Regions from separate parts of the Homo sapiens genome. Here region 2 is linked to region 1. The links are contacts of gene promoters, found by promoter capture Hi-C in blood cells and fetal thymus (Javierre and others, 2016). All regions are on one chromosome and are shown on one strand. The core of a region is centred on a gene start or on the middle of the fragment in contact, and the rest is flanking DNA. Distances in the headings are between cores, read along the strand shown.

Evidence for each region. Contacts are between HindIII fragments. The CHiCAGO score rates a contact against its expected background, and 5 or more counts as called.
Region 2: a contact is called between a fragment that was not itself captured here and the fragment with the promoter of MRPL36 in region 1, in 2 of 17 cell types (erythroblasts and total B cells). The highest score is 10.2, in erythroblasts.

Annotation. Positions count from the first base shown.
Region 1 is chr5:1,794,681-1,801,913 of GRCh38, forward strand. It overlaps MRPL36 (mitochondrial ribosomal protein L36), which reads right to left and starts at 5,157. Exons shown (of 2, transcript NM_032479.4): 1 at 5,112-5,157; 2 at 3,705-4,267. The coding sequence starts at 4,255. The coding sequence ends at 3,944. It overlaps NDUFS6 (NADH:ubiquinone oxidoreductase subunit S6), which reads left to right and starts at 6,727. Exons shown (of 4, transcript NM_004553.6): 1 at 6,727-6,869. The coding sequence starts at 6,738. RefSeq lists a silencer at 4,627-5,036 and enhancers at 6,117-6,166, 6,227-6,356, 6,536-7,233, 6,967-7,106. The HindIII fragment of the contact is 7,489 bases long and covers 235-7,233 here.
Region 2 is chr5:6,624,963-6,632,195 of GRCh38, forward strand. It overlaps NSUN2 (NOP2/Sun RNA methyltransferase 2), which reads right to left. Exons shown (of 19, transcript NM_017755.6): 3 at 6,911-7,015; 4 at 602-707. Among named protein-coding and RNA genes, the nearest start is that of NSUN2, 4.5 kb to the right of the region's middle. The HindIII fragment of the contact is 218 bases long and covers 4,942-5,159 here.

The DNA of each region.
Region 1 (7,233 bases), core at 3,907-6,406:
GCTCTCTGGACTCCCTTTTCTCAGGCCCAAACCCCATCACAAGGCCCTGGAGCAGGACTGAGTCACCTCCTGAAGGCCCCGTTCCAAAGCACTCCCACGGGGGATTAGGTTTCAACACAGGAATTTTTGGCGACACAAACATTGAGACCACAGCACCCAGCTCTCTGGGTTCCCAGAACCCTGTGGGAGGGCTGGGTCGCGCCTGCCCCCTTTTAAACACGAGGCTTCCATGGAAGCTTCTTGCCGGAGGCTGGACACTGAGGAATGGACAGGATCAACACTCTTCCACCGGCTCTTCCACCTCCCGATCACTTCCACCATCGCTGGGGGAAGAACGAATGCACCGCGTGGAGTGCTTCCGCCACAAAGCAGCACATCACCTCTGCTCGGAGACCCTGCTGGTGACCCTCAGCCAGCCTCATAGGCCACAGCAGGTCTCACAGCCATGCCCACTCGCAGGGAGGCAGGGAAGCCCCAGCCCCCACCGGTCCGGCACAGGAAGGAGACCTGGACCCTGGGAGTGCCGGTCTCGCCTCCCACTCTCCTGGGTGAGTGACAGCGACGCTGCCAGGTGGGTGGTCCATCAGTTAGACCTGGTCCGTGAGTAGCCTCCTAGGTGGATACAAACATGACAGCGTCCCACAGAGCACCTCGCCTCCTTCTGGAAATGCATAGACAGCTCCTATGTTCTTCTCTCCATCTGGGCATCATTTACTCTTCCTTCACTTGCACTGCTGTCCCCAGTTGATCTTACTTTAAAAGTCCCTCAGAGAATAACCTAATAACGTACACCTGAATAGCACTTCTAACTTCTCACAGTATTTTCAATCCGTCTTTCAGTTCATTGGCACCACACCTTCAGGAGACAGGGAGGACATTGGCAAGACAGGGCTGGCATCTGGCAGGGCCCCAGGCCACCCGTAGGTCTCGCGAGTGCAGGGACAGCTCCTGACAGGATGACCCTGCCGGCCCACGTGCCCACTCCTCCTCTCTCTGCAGTCGCCTTTCTCTGTGCCCATGAGGACCTGCTCAGCCCACCTTTGGGTGGCTTGGAAGTGCCTGGGATTTAAGTCCCCACACGGTCACCCTCAACCACCAGTGACGAGCATCTGTGGATAAACGCCCCCCCCCCCCCAGTCCTCATCCCCTACAGGACACCAAGGTCCATTCCGCCAGAGCTCAGGGGACACAACAAGGTGGCACCCGGTGTCGCTCTGGTTCTGTGCCCTGGAAGCTCCTCTCCCTCCCTGACTCACATCCCCACTCCCCATCCTGACTTCCGAGATCACCTCCCAGTGGTGCACCTGCATCCCAGCCCTCGTCATGGCAGGCGGCAGCAACCCTGGTTCATTGATGGGGAAACGTGTTGCCCCCCAGGGAGTGCTTGACAGTGTCTGGGGCACTTTTGGTTGGCCCTGCTTGTGTGTGGGGTGCTCCCGACATCTTGTGGTGGAGCCCAGGGATGCTGAACACCCGGCAGTGCCCAGGATGGGCCCGGAGCACAACCCAGCCCCAGATGTCCACAGTGCCGATGCCCAGGATTCCTGGCCTGGTTCTGCAGAATTCTTTTATTAATCACTTATTCTGGACTGAAGCCTGGATAGGTAATTATCAGCCTTAGATTTCTACTCAAGCAAAATTAGCAGAATCCCACCTTTCCCCGTTGGATCAAGCGTGCCATGAAATCCATGCCTTCTTTATTCCTTCCTGTTGGCTCCTGTGCCACGCTGCCTTGCTGGGGATTTGTCTGTGCAATTGTCAAGAGGCCACGACTGTGTGCCCACGTTTGCATGGCACGTAAGCACATCACACCCAACTGCAGGCATGCAGCCGGTGGTCAGGTCTCCCCCCAGAGCACTGCGTACTGCAGAAACACACCCAGTTTTCATCCACGCAGGATGGCTTGGATGCCCCCTGCCCGTGCCCAGCCTCAGGCCCCTCCTCGGGTTGCCTCCCCTGCAACCAAAGTTTCAGCTTGGCCGTCATCCCCTGCAGGGAGCATCCTTGACCTCTTGCCTTGGAGGGCCTGGCATGCTTCACACACAGCACTCACCAGCCTGTTTCACACGCTCCTACGCAGTAAGGGTGTGAGGGCAGCAGCACCTCTTCTCCTCCTCACCCCAGGGCCCAGGCTAAGGGTGCTCGGGAAGCATCAGCAAGCCATGCTGGGGGCTGTCAGGACCCTGTGGTTCTCAAAACCACATCACCCACCCCGTGAGAGATCAGAGACATGGACAGCACACGCTGGCTGAAGGTTGCAGTCTGCTGAGGGTCACTACAGCGGTGCCACTGACCCATCACACCCTCCCACACTGCCTGTTCAGGTAGTGTATGCAGACACACGCGTATATATGTGGACACACTCATGCATGCACACACACGTGCCATATACACACATGCACGCACACACACACGCTTGAGGAAAGTCCTCTCTCTTGCTGAACTATTCTCAGCCCCAGTGCATAACAGGTCTCCTAGTGGGGTCTGGCTTCTGACACTTTCAGGGGCCCCCGTGACAGACACTCTAGTGCATCAACTCCTCACTTAAGAACGGCTCGAGAGAGGGCTTCCCTTTCACTGCACAACAGAAGCAGGCTCTTCGCAGAGCTGGTTCCCTTTTCTTTCAGGTAATAACGCTCTCCACCTTCTTCAACTGGCCAGACGCCTGCGGGCTGCAATGCCCATGTCAAGCTGCTTGCAGAGGCCCTTTGTGAGGGTGAATGGGCACAGCACAGAGTTCACAGCAACACACACCGGCGTCTGCTCCCCCTGGAGAAGTGATGTGGGTGCTGGGGAGGAGCTTTGGCCCTCATGTGGCCATGCTGCCCCCTCTGCCGCCCCACCAGGCCTTTCTGGGTGACCCTGCTGCGCCCCTGCTGCTGATCTGGGCAGGAGGGCGCTCCCCCCGCGCTAGGCTTCTTGCGTGGTCTCCTGTCTCACAAAACTCCTTTCTGGGAGAAGGGGAGGTGTCCCTGGCCAGGAGGAAAGGAGCCGTGAGAAGGCTGTCGCATCTCAGCATCTGCTCTGGGTTGGACTGTGCTCCCCACCCCCAAATTCATGTTGATGACAGTGCTCCCCCAAGGCATGGGGCTCACTCAACTATGAATCCCGATGACCAGGGAAGGACCAGCCCACTCCATCCCTCCAAGTCCTTACCAGTTGTAGGTGTGGTCATCCTCTAGCAAGGGGAGCTCCTTGCCTCCCCCTGAATCTGGGCTCACCCTAGGGACTGAAAGAGTGCGGTAGAAATGACACGCTGGAATTTCTGAGGCTGGGTCATAGGAAGCCTCGTAGCATCTGCTTGGGTCTCTCGGGACACTCTCGGGAAGCTCACTGTGGGGCAGTGCAAGCCACGCTGTGGGCCCTGCCTGAGGAGGTGCTACGTACAGCCTGAGGAGCACTGAGACCCCAGACAGGAGAGCCGGTGCCATCTTGGAAGTGGGTCCTGCAGTTAATGCCACACAGATCAGACAAACTGCTCAGCTGAGCCCATCCCAAATGCCTCACAAAATCGTGAACAATGTAAAATGGCTGATTTAAGCCACCAAGCCTTGGCTTGTACAGCGACGGGTGACCAAAACACCACTTCTTCCAAGAGGCTCTAAGCAGCCTCACGGAGACATAGAGAAGTCCTGCCCAGCCTCACCCAGCACCATCCAATCCCTACCTGCAGCCTGAGTTCAGAGAGAATGAATGAACTAAGCTATTCGGAAGGTCTATTTTAATAGGAAAATGTTTTTTAGTTGGAACGTTTTGGAAATAAGATAACGCAATGTCTTCTATAGTTACTCATTTACACTGAAACGTGATGGGTAACTTTTAGGGCGTTTGCTTCCAGTCACTTTCCCCTGACTCCTTGATGTGATAATTCCTTCCATAAGATACAACCATTCTCCCAAGTGATGCGATGACGAGTATGTGCGTGACTCTGGAGGGAAAGGGTCTACATCTGTCTCTGCTTGTGCCTCGGATGGGTTTTACAGTAGACGTACCACCGACCCCGCCTCTTCACCAGGTAACAGTCCTTGCAGCGCTTCTTAAGGACAGTCTTGTTTTTGAACCCCAGCGCAGGCAGCAGATGGGGCAGGAGGCCGGGTGAGAGAAGTGAGCGCACTGCTGCCCCGGGTTCCACAGCCACGGGGGCTGCACCTCGAATGGATCCAAATAGAAATGTGGAGAGGGCTCGAGGCTTCACCGTGTGACGACTGAGATAGAGCAGAGGGTTCACCATTTTCCTTATAAAAAGATTTGCCATGTTGTGGTGAATCTATGGGAGAGAGAAAAAAAGGAGTTATAGCTTCTCCTGCACTTCCACCTGCTCTTTAAGGCTTCCTTTTCTCTGTTTCACTGAGGCTTGGGAAGGCAGGGACCTCGGGGACTGAGGGTGTTCCCATACCAGCTGCAGCCTCGACCTGAGCTTGAACACTGCCTTAATCAGCCAAGTGTGCCAGGAGAATAAGGGGCAGTGGACGGTGGCTTCCTTCCCTTTCCCGCCTGCTGCAAGTGTAGGTGAGTGTGCAAAGCCCTGCGATGTTGAGGAGCCGCTCACTTGGCTGGGAGGGAGCTTAAACTTAGGCCGCATCCCTTTCCAAACAGACACCAGGTCAAGGACGGTTCAACTGATGAGCTCCTCCCTCCAACTCTTCCCAGACCCAGGGGCCCTCCCTCGGGCCAGTTTCGGGACAGGCCCCCGCTCCGGAAGAGCACGGAACTCTGGCACCCCGGTCGCCCGCCCCTGCTTCCCCACGCGCCCCGGCCCTTAGGGTTCAGCGGCCCCGGCTGGGAAGAGCTGGGCCTGCAGGGCCCGGAGGACACTGCGGCACCGGAGCCGGCCCTGCGCGCGGGCTGTGAGGTCGCGTTCGGGAGCCGCCAGTTCTCCCGCCCCGGGGTCGCTGGACACCCCCTCCTGTCGCCAGGTCGGGCGCCCACGGTCGGACCCGCACCCCCCAACCCTGGCCCTCTGAGACCGCCAGGCCCCGGCCCACGCTCCTCTGACCGCAGCCCACTCGGGGAGACACGCCCGAGGGTCCCAAGGTGGCCGGCCCCACCCTCTCGCAGCCCCCACTCTCAAGACACCCGGGACCCCTGACCTGAGAAGACGGCTCCCTTACCCGGCCGCACGCTCTCACCCGGCGCCGACCCCTGCGTCTGCGCACTGGCACGCGGACGCTGCTGCCAGGAAGGAAGATGGCGGCGGGGGGGGGGGTCACGTGGCGTGCCCACGTCCAGTGCGGGGCGCAGAGACGCAGCAGCGAGTGCGCAGGCGCTGGAGTGCGACGTATCACTCCCCGACTGCGCGCACTCTGCGGGCCACCGGGATCGTCGTGCTGTTTGGAGCGCTCTCGGGAAAAAAAATGCAAAAACCAGGAACGAAAATGGATATCCGCAACGAAAAAGAAATTACAACCACTTAGGCCTTAGAAAAAACTGGCAAATACCAATGTCAAAACAAACTGAGAAAGAGGACATGTTTTTAAGTGGACAGGAGAAATGTAAACAGGCTCCGGGAAACGAGTGGAGACGGGCAGTAGTTTCAACTGGTTACGGCTGTTTTCCCCAACATTATGAAAAACTTCGGACATAGAGAAAAAGGGAAAGAACTGTACGGTGAACACCCATATACTTGCCACCTAGATTCTACCCTTAGCTCGCTTATCCCTGCCTTTTCAGGTATCTACCCGTAACTCCATTCGCCTTCCTTTTTGTGTGTGTCCGGGTGAGTTGCAGACGTGGCTGCGTCCACTCCGCGCTCCCTGCAGGCCCCAACGCTTCATCGCAGCGCCCACTTTTTCCACCTGACCCGGCGAACACCGGGCGGGCCGCTGGAGTTTATCAGCTCCAGGACAAATCTGCCTCTGACCACCACGTTTGCTGGGACATCTTTGGGACCGGAGGTTTTCATGTGCATTCTTGTTTCTCATGCCTTTCCTCCTCTTTATCATCTTCCCCGCCACTCATCCATCTCTAGTGTTTTGTTCTTGGAGTCACGTGGTCCTCAGGCTCTGACCACAGCAAAAGAAAAGCTGGATGCTGGAGCTTAAGCTGGGATTTATACCCAAGTCAACTCTAAGCAAAACGGGCCTTTTTAGAGGCTGTATTTGCATGCTGTAAAATCAGTCGGTGTACTAGGCTTTGTTGCAGAAATCCCCAATATACGTTTCCTCTGCGGCTCCCCGTAACCACACACAGGAACGCTTGCCTTGAACGAGGAGAATGCACTTCCAGTCTCGTCTGCTAAGCAGTTGACTCCTTCACCCAATAATTTTGATATTTAAATGTCTCATGATTATCGGTTACCATAAGAATATAAACAATGTATTTTCAGTTTACATCCTCCCCTGCCTGTCCGCTAAATAAGAACCACTGGGTACTCCTAATCGCTGAAGGTTTCGCACACCATTGCCTGCCTCATCAGGGCCCTAGCTCTAGCCTGCGGCTGCAACTGCATGAGGCTGCACCTGCCGGCGCAACGGGGCCGCTTAACTTTTAGGCCATTGATGAAAAGTCAAACAAGCGCACAGTACTCGGTGTAATCAGGGGCATTTTTAGCGAGATACCTGGGATGAAAACGGGTGACCACCTGAATCAGAGAGCAGCTCCGGCGCACCCTCTGCCCCGACCCGCGCTCCCCGCCCCCAGGGCGAAATAAATACCGGGTGTTTGGCGCCGCCAGAAGCCGTGCGCATGCGTTAGCGCTAAGCGGGACGTTGCGCCGGGTCAAAGGCCAGCGGCGCAAAATGGCGGCGGCGATGACCTTCTGCCGGCTGCTGAACCGGTGTGGCGAGGCGGCGCGGAGCCTGCCCCTGGGCGCCAGGTGTTTCGGGGTGCGGGTCTCGCCGACCGGGGAGAAGGTCACGCACACTGGCCAGGTAACGGCCGCTGGGTACAGGATGCACCTTCCTCCAGCCGCACCTCGGGCGACTGGTGGCAGTGGGCTCGCCGGGCATCCGCGGCCCTGGTTCTGCGCCGGCAGCGCAGGTCGTGGTAAGGTTGTGCTGTCGCTCACGCGCCGGGGAGGACGCCCGCGAGTCGGGACGGTGGTGGCAGCCTGTAGCGGTGGGTCTCGTCCTTCCAGGGCCTGCGGGCTCTGGAACGGGAAGTCTCCCCAGCGGGCAGCACTTGCTGTGGACTGGCTGCCCATAGGCGATTTGTGGCAGCCGATTATTTGGGTCAGAACGTTTAGAATTTGTGTAATATTCAATAATAAATTTTAGTAACCTGAGAAGTCGGTTG
Region 2 (7,233 bases), core at 3,801-6,300, 4.8 Mb after region 1:
AGCACCTTAACTGCACTCAAGGAATGTGGGTGGCTACGGAGAATGTGAAGACAGATGCCGTCCTGTGAGGACCAAAGCTGTGCTTAGGGGTTTTGTGGTGCTTAGGTGTTTTGTGGTTACCAAGAGCAATGTGTGGTAAGAAAAAAAAAAAACACAGTAAAAAGTAAAATCAAAAGCTTCATTTTTAGTAAAATAAATCAATTTTAAAAAACAGAACCAAAAACCTATTCCCTACCAAGATGGCCTTAAAAACATACTACTTTTTATGTACAACAGGCATCTGAAATGTGTACCTAAGAAGGAAATGAGAGTGCAGTGCTCACCCCAACCCTATAGCCATCCAAATACACAAGCAAGAGGAAACAAGAAATTAACTAGCTGGCATCGATATCCTTACTAAATTTCATGACTAGATAAACCAAACAAGGCAACGGATATACAAATAATCAGAAATCACAGGTGGTGCACACACTGCAGTTGTCTTTACTGTGTGTGATGTCCACCTACTGCTTCTAGTGACAAGAACCTAAAAACAGAACTACACTACATCTATGCATTTACAGCTTTAAGGAAACTAGCAAGTCTAAAGAAATCAACTTACAGATTCTGTTTCACTAACTAGAAACTGATGAAACTTTTCCAAGTGTGGCGATTTTCTCAAGATTTTTCGACTTAAATTTGTGTGCCAGGCAAGTTCTTCAGGATACCTGACCAAAAAGAAAGCAAAACATTTATGGATTATAAATACTAAAGTCGTCTGTTGACAACTTTGTGCTTCTATCAGTCGCATGCCAAATGAGACTTCGAATGTTGTTCTCCCTGCTCCTATTCACAATCCTCTACGGACAGTCAGCAACACTCAGAGATGTCGCTGTAGGCTTAAGGAACATGGCTCTAGCTACACCGTGGCCCAATCAGAAACAGGAGAGCCATGGGGGTTACAAGATTATGCATATTACTGTAAAATTATAATGATGAAACGCTCGAGATCAGATGAAAAAGCGGACACTCCTCTGCTCTTCACCATTATAAGGTAACAATGGTAAGGTCATCAGAAAAAAAAGATACAAGATGACTTACTTAATGTGCAGATCACACAGAATCAAAATAATGCAGTGTCAGAGTGTCCCACAAATACCTGATTAGTTTTTTAAAAAATATATTTTTCATTATTTCTAACACCAGTTCAATAATGCACTAAAATATTTTACATACCAAAAAAATCCTACCTTGGAAACCACTAATGCATTAACTTGAGCTCCTAGGCTGTTACCTATATATAACTAAGAATAAAGCATTTCCTGCCATCATATCTGTGAATATATTTGAACTTTCTATAAATGATGACATCAATGTTATTTTTATTTTTTTTATTTTTTTTAATTAGGGGAGAAATGGGGGATACTAAAAACACTGCCTTTTTTTTTTTGAGACAGTCTCACTGTCACCTAGGCTGGAGTGTAGTGGTGTAATCTCAGCTCACTGTGACTTCTGCCTCCTGGATTCAAGTAATTCTCATGCCTCAGTCAGCCACCTGAGTAGCTGGGATTACAGACGTGTATTTTCAGTAGAGATGTGGTTTTGCCGTGTTGGCCAGCTTGGTCTCGAACTCCTGGCCTCGAGTGATCCGGCCGCATCAGTCTCCCAAAGTGTTGGGATTACAGGCATGAGCCACTGTACCCCACCCAGGATGTGCTTTGAAACTTGGCCTGCACCTATACAGGCATCTGCACCGTACAAATGAGCACACTGATGTCATGCAGCACCATGCTCAATCCAATGCCAAACCAAGTGTACCACGTCACACGGCCATAAATCTTAGTGTAGTTTCAGCAATTCTCACTAAACCTGAGATGCAGTAATACACTCAATTTAACAATGCAGGCTCACAATGTTTCCATGCGTCAAATTGTAGCTAGAGTGAAAACCATGAAAATAAAACTGGAATGTCTGGAAAACACAAACACATTTGACTGCTTTTAAACTCTGATTTTTTGATGGAAACAAACTCAGGACTTAAAAGCCCGACACTGCTCAAGTCAAAATATTACAAAATATACCTGAAAAGCATTTTCTACCAAATAATGAAGACGAAACTGGCTGAATCTGTCCACGGCCACCCTCCAAAGGTCCCCAGCGCTTTGATTCTATCTCATATAGCCCAGTTCCCTCCTCGACATTTAATGTGTTCAAAAATATAAAGCCAAAAGAAAATCATATTCATAAGGCAATTTTAAAAAGAATTGTTTTAAATAATCTTTTGGACTCATTAGAGGCGAAATAGTAGGTTACATGCAAATTTGGCATTTGCTATAGTATTGGGCAAATATCTGCTGTGCCACTGTAACCTCTACTTGCAAACAGCCAAATGCCAGCTCATATAGTATCTGGTCTTCCTGAACTTGTCTGTCTCAAAGCTAGTACGATCATGTAAGTTATTGCCTTACCAAATCACTAAGACATCAATATGAACACCACATGCCATTTAGACTTATTGTAAAGAGCTGAATTTTCATTTTCAAATATAGATAAGCAGTCTAGATATACTTTGAACAAATATAGCCTTATATGTCTTTTTCGTCAAATTTCTGATAGTCAAAATGTAAACGTACTATTACAAGATTAAAATTCTACAGTATTTATAATTGTGAAGGCTGTTGATCTCATGTAAAGAAACATTTAGGAACTCTGAAATATTTAAATACAAACAGAAACTAACAGATAAATGTTTATTTCCTCTGGGTACAGAGAACAGCCTGGGCAACAAAGCGAGGCCCTGTTTCTACAAGAAATGTTTTTAAATTATGTTTCTTATACAGCTTTAGGAACAGCATCATCTTTTTATGAACCAAAAAATGTTTATTAAATCTTTGTAGATTTTAACATCAAACAAAATGAGAGGTATATTTAATTTTTAGTTACTTACTTCAAATTTAGCTTGTGTCTTTTAAGAAAAAATCCTATTTGGGCTTTTTAGAGGATAAGTTAAAAGGACCACTGTCATCTTTGCATATTAAAAATTCTCAAGTGGTAAGGACTCTGTAAATATATACAACATCTATGACAAACCATCCTCAATCTAGACATTAAAAAGCACGTAACAGGCGAGGTGCAGTGGCTCATGCCTGTAACACCAGCACTTTGGGAGACCAAGGTGGGCGGATCACTTGAGGTCAGGAGTTCAAGACTAGCCTGTCCAACATGGCAAAACCCCAACTGTACAAAAAATAGAAAAAATAGCTGGGTATGGTGATGGGGGCATGTAATCCCAGCTACCTGGGACGCTGAGGTGGGAGGATCACCTGAGCCCAGGAGGTGGAGGTTGCAGTGAGCTGAGATCATGCCACTGCACTCCAACCTGGGCAACAGAGACCTTGTCTCAAAAAAAAATATAAGTAAACAGCACATAAATAGAATGATAATAAGGTGCACTCTGAACAATTGGTTGTCAAAACAATGCTTCTATAAGAATGCTTTAGGATAATTTCTCATTGTTCTGAGTCTATGGAAAGTAAGAAAAAAATGAAACTGGCCCAAGCTATGGTCCTATACATAACTTTCCTTCTAGAAAATGTAATTTCAAAAAACGTTTTCCTAAATTATATTTCACTATGTACCAGAGGATTGGGAAGAATATTACATGATCTATTCCTGCATCTTGAGCAATACAGAAAATTACCAGAAGTCCTGGAAAGCTTCTGCTTTACTTGCTTGCTGAGAGATTTAGTACCCTAAAACTGACAGATGAATTTGAATAAATAAATGTTTAGAGAATACAGCTGCCAAGAAACTGGCATTGGCCAGGAATGGTGGCTCATGTCTGTAATCCCAGCACTTTGGGAAACCAAGGCAGGAAGATTGCTTGAGCCCTGGAATGCAAGACCAGCCTGGGCAACAAGGTGAAACTCCATCTCTACAAAAAAATAAAAAAAATTAGCCAGGCGTGGTGGCATGCACCTGTAGTCCGAGCTACTCAGGAGGCTGAGGTGGGAGGATCACTTGAGCCTAGGAGGTCAAGGCTGCAGTGAACCGTCATGACATCACTGCACTCCAGCCTGGGTGACAGAGTGAGACCCTGTCTCAAAATAAAATATAGAGAAACCATCATTGATAATGGAAAAAGCCAAATATTAGAAACCCAGATCTACAATGTTTTGTTCATACCCTTCAGCTGTGTGTTCAGAAAATTAAAGCAAACAAAAACATAGCTGGCTGTTGGCAGAGAGCAATTCACCTTCATTCTTCAACTACAGACAACCTGCAGATTCTAAGAGTTTGGTAATTACCTTGTCATATACCCAGACACATTGTTAAACAAGGTGGAAAAGCAGCTATGAAATGTTAAAAGGGCTGATCAAATCCAAGTGTAACTGTAGTTTGCAGAGAATAATAAAAAACTAGCAAGCCTTATTGACATCGTATGGTTTCTCCTAGTTTGTTGGAGCCTGCAGAAGAAAATGCCCACATGGAGGTGCCTTAAGAGCACACCTCTTCCCTATAGACACATGCTGAAACGTTCCTCCTGGACAGGAACTTCTTCATCTTAAAAGCATTTCTTATCCCGTCTCTGCGCTTCTAAACACAAGGTTTTAGAAACAAATGTTTCCAGGTGATTGTGTGAAGCAGCACATACATGCATCACTGCTAAAAATACAAACATGCCCGAGGAGAATCGTAATCCTGTCTTCTTAAAATATTTTAGATGGTTTGGCTCTGTGTTCCCACCCCAATTTCACCTTGAATTGTAATATTCCCCACGTGTCAAGGGCAGGACGAGGTGGAGATAATTAAATCCCCGGGCCGTTTCCCTCATGTTGTTCTCACAACAGTGAGTTCGTTCTCAGGGGGAGATCTGATGGTTTATTAGGGGCTTCTTCCTTTGCTCAGCACTCATTCTCTCTCCTGCCACCCTGTGCAGAGAGATCTTCCGCCATGATTTTAAGCTTCCTGAGGCCTCCCCGGCGATGTGGAAATGTGAGTCAATTAAGCCTATTTCCTTTATCTATACATTACTCAGGTATGTCCTTATAACAGTGTGAAAATGGACTACTACAGTATCAGACCTCTACTTCAAGTACAACACAATCAGTGTCGTCAATCAAATCTTCAAACCAAACGACTTGAGCAAAGTCTACAACCTAGTTACCAGGAGGAAGAAAAGCTTGATCTCGTGAAGGTTACCTCATCTCAGCAATGCCATAACTAGAGGCTGAAAAACATCTACCTTTTCCACTGATCTCACTACAGTGGACAATTAGTGACCACTAACAGCAACGTAGCACCCGTATCATTTTCCTATACTGTACCCTTCAAGCTTTTAAAAATCTAAGATGTGGCATATCTATTCTTTTTTCCCTTTTTGAGACATGGTCTCGCTCTGTGGCCCAGGCTGGAGTGCAGTGGCATGATCTTGGCTTACTGCAACCTCCACCTCCTGGGTTCAAGCGATTCTCATGCCTCAGCCTCCCTAGTGTCTGGGATTACAGGCGTGTGCCACCATGCCTGTCTAATTTTTGTATTTTTAGTAGAGATAGGGTTTCACGATGTTGGTCATATTTATTCCTATATCCCAGCAACACATTCCATGATGGTGATATTCGGTCTTGATACTGGTTGAATACTGACTTAATGTTTGGCCAGTCAGCATTCATTGTGAATGTATATGCTTATCTGTGATAGGGACAATGAAAATCCAAATAGCCAATGAAAGAAAAACAAGCAAATCTGTACCCCATGATTAATGAAAATCTGACCTTGATTTGCGAACACTAAAGGTTATCCAAAAAGGAAAGATAACACTACGTACTGGAATAGTCAAAACCTCAAAAGTTGATGCAAAACGCTTAATTTGGCAGGGCGCAGTGGCTCACGCCTGTAATCCCAGCACTTTGGGAGGCCGAGGTGGGCGGATCATGAGGTCAGGAGATGAGACCATCCTGGCTAGCAAGGTAAAAACCCGTCTCCACTAAAAATACAAAAAAATTGGCCGGGCGTGGTGGCGGGCACCTGTAGTCCCAGCTACTCGGGAGGCTGAGACAAGAGAATGGCGTGAACCAGGGAGGTGGAGCTTGCAGTGAGCCAAGATGGTGCCACTGCTCTCCAGCCTGGGCGACAGAGTGAGACTCCGTCTCCAAACAAACAAACAGACAAACAAAAAACGGCTTAATTCACCTTTTCGTGCATTACTTTTCTGAGAACTCAATACCTCAAAGTTAATAATAACGACTTTCCCACTTATGTAAGTTAACTGAAGGACTGGCGCCTCCGGAGTTCTCCAAGCATCTTTACAAGATGCTATCAGCACAAGGGATCACCTTCATACAACTGAGACTAGAACCGAGCCATGAGGAATAGGTAACCCAGAAGGCACCTCCAGGACAGGTCAAGAAAGAGGTAGCTCCCAGAGTAGTAGCACGCTTGGGTGCTGAGACTCGGAAATGCTACATTGGCTGGTGCAGTCTGTACTGCGAAGTACCAGGAGACAACCTGACAGCAGACAGTGGTAACCTGTCTGTAATGGAAAACACTAAGAGACTACCTACCAGGAGACTGTTGTCAAGCTAAGTCTGTCCTTTTTCTGAAGGCAAAGCAGCCACTCTGCAACAGTTTTGATGTGAGAAAACAAGGGCTGTAAAAGGGAGCTGGCGGAAGTGGTGACATAAAGGAAGAGGCTGGATGTACTAGGAAGAGCTGGCTGAAATCAGTGACTCATAAAGCTGCAAATCGCAAATCGCATGAAAACTTGCGTAGCAATATAATGTTGATAAAAGCACCAGGTACTAGAACATTAGGATGTTTGCAAAGTATACCCAAGCTCTTTAACAGCAAATGCAGTACCAAGAAATATAATTCAAGTGATAGAGATTAATATCCCAAATAAATATTCGGCATGAAGCACTGTGGTACCTACCAACTCAGTGGCTGTGGAACTTCAACTTTCTGACCGTCCACCTCCAGGTCCTCCAATTCCTTAAAATATTTGTTCTTTAAGCAATGGAGAATCTCTTTTGCGTGGCTATTGAAAAATAAGGAAGTTTCAAACTGATCTAAAAAACTAAGTTAATACATTGTATCTTCTTAAATTTAAGACTGCAAGTGTTTTAAAACTAAAACCAACTTTTGCATGGAGAGTAAACATTCTTTAGTCACTACTTTTACACTGTATGCCTTCAAAATTTAAGCAATCCACACTGTTTGAGCCCTAAGAGCAACACTGCATTCCTTCTCTCCTAA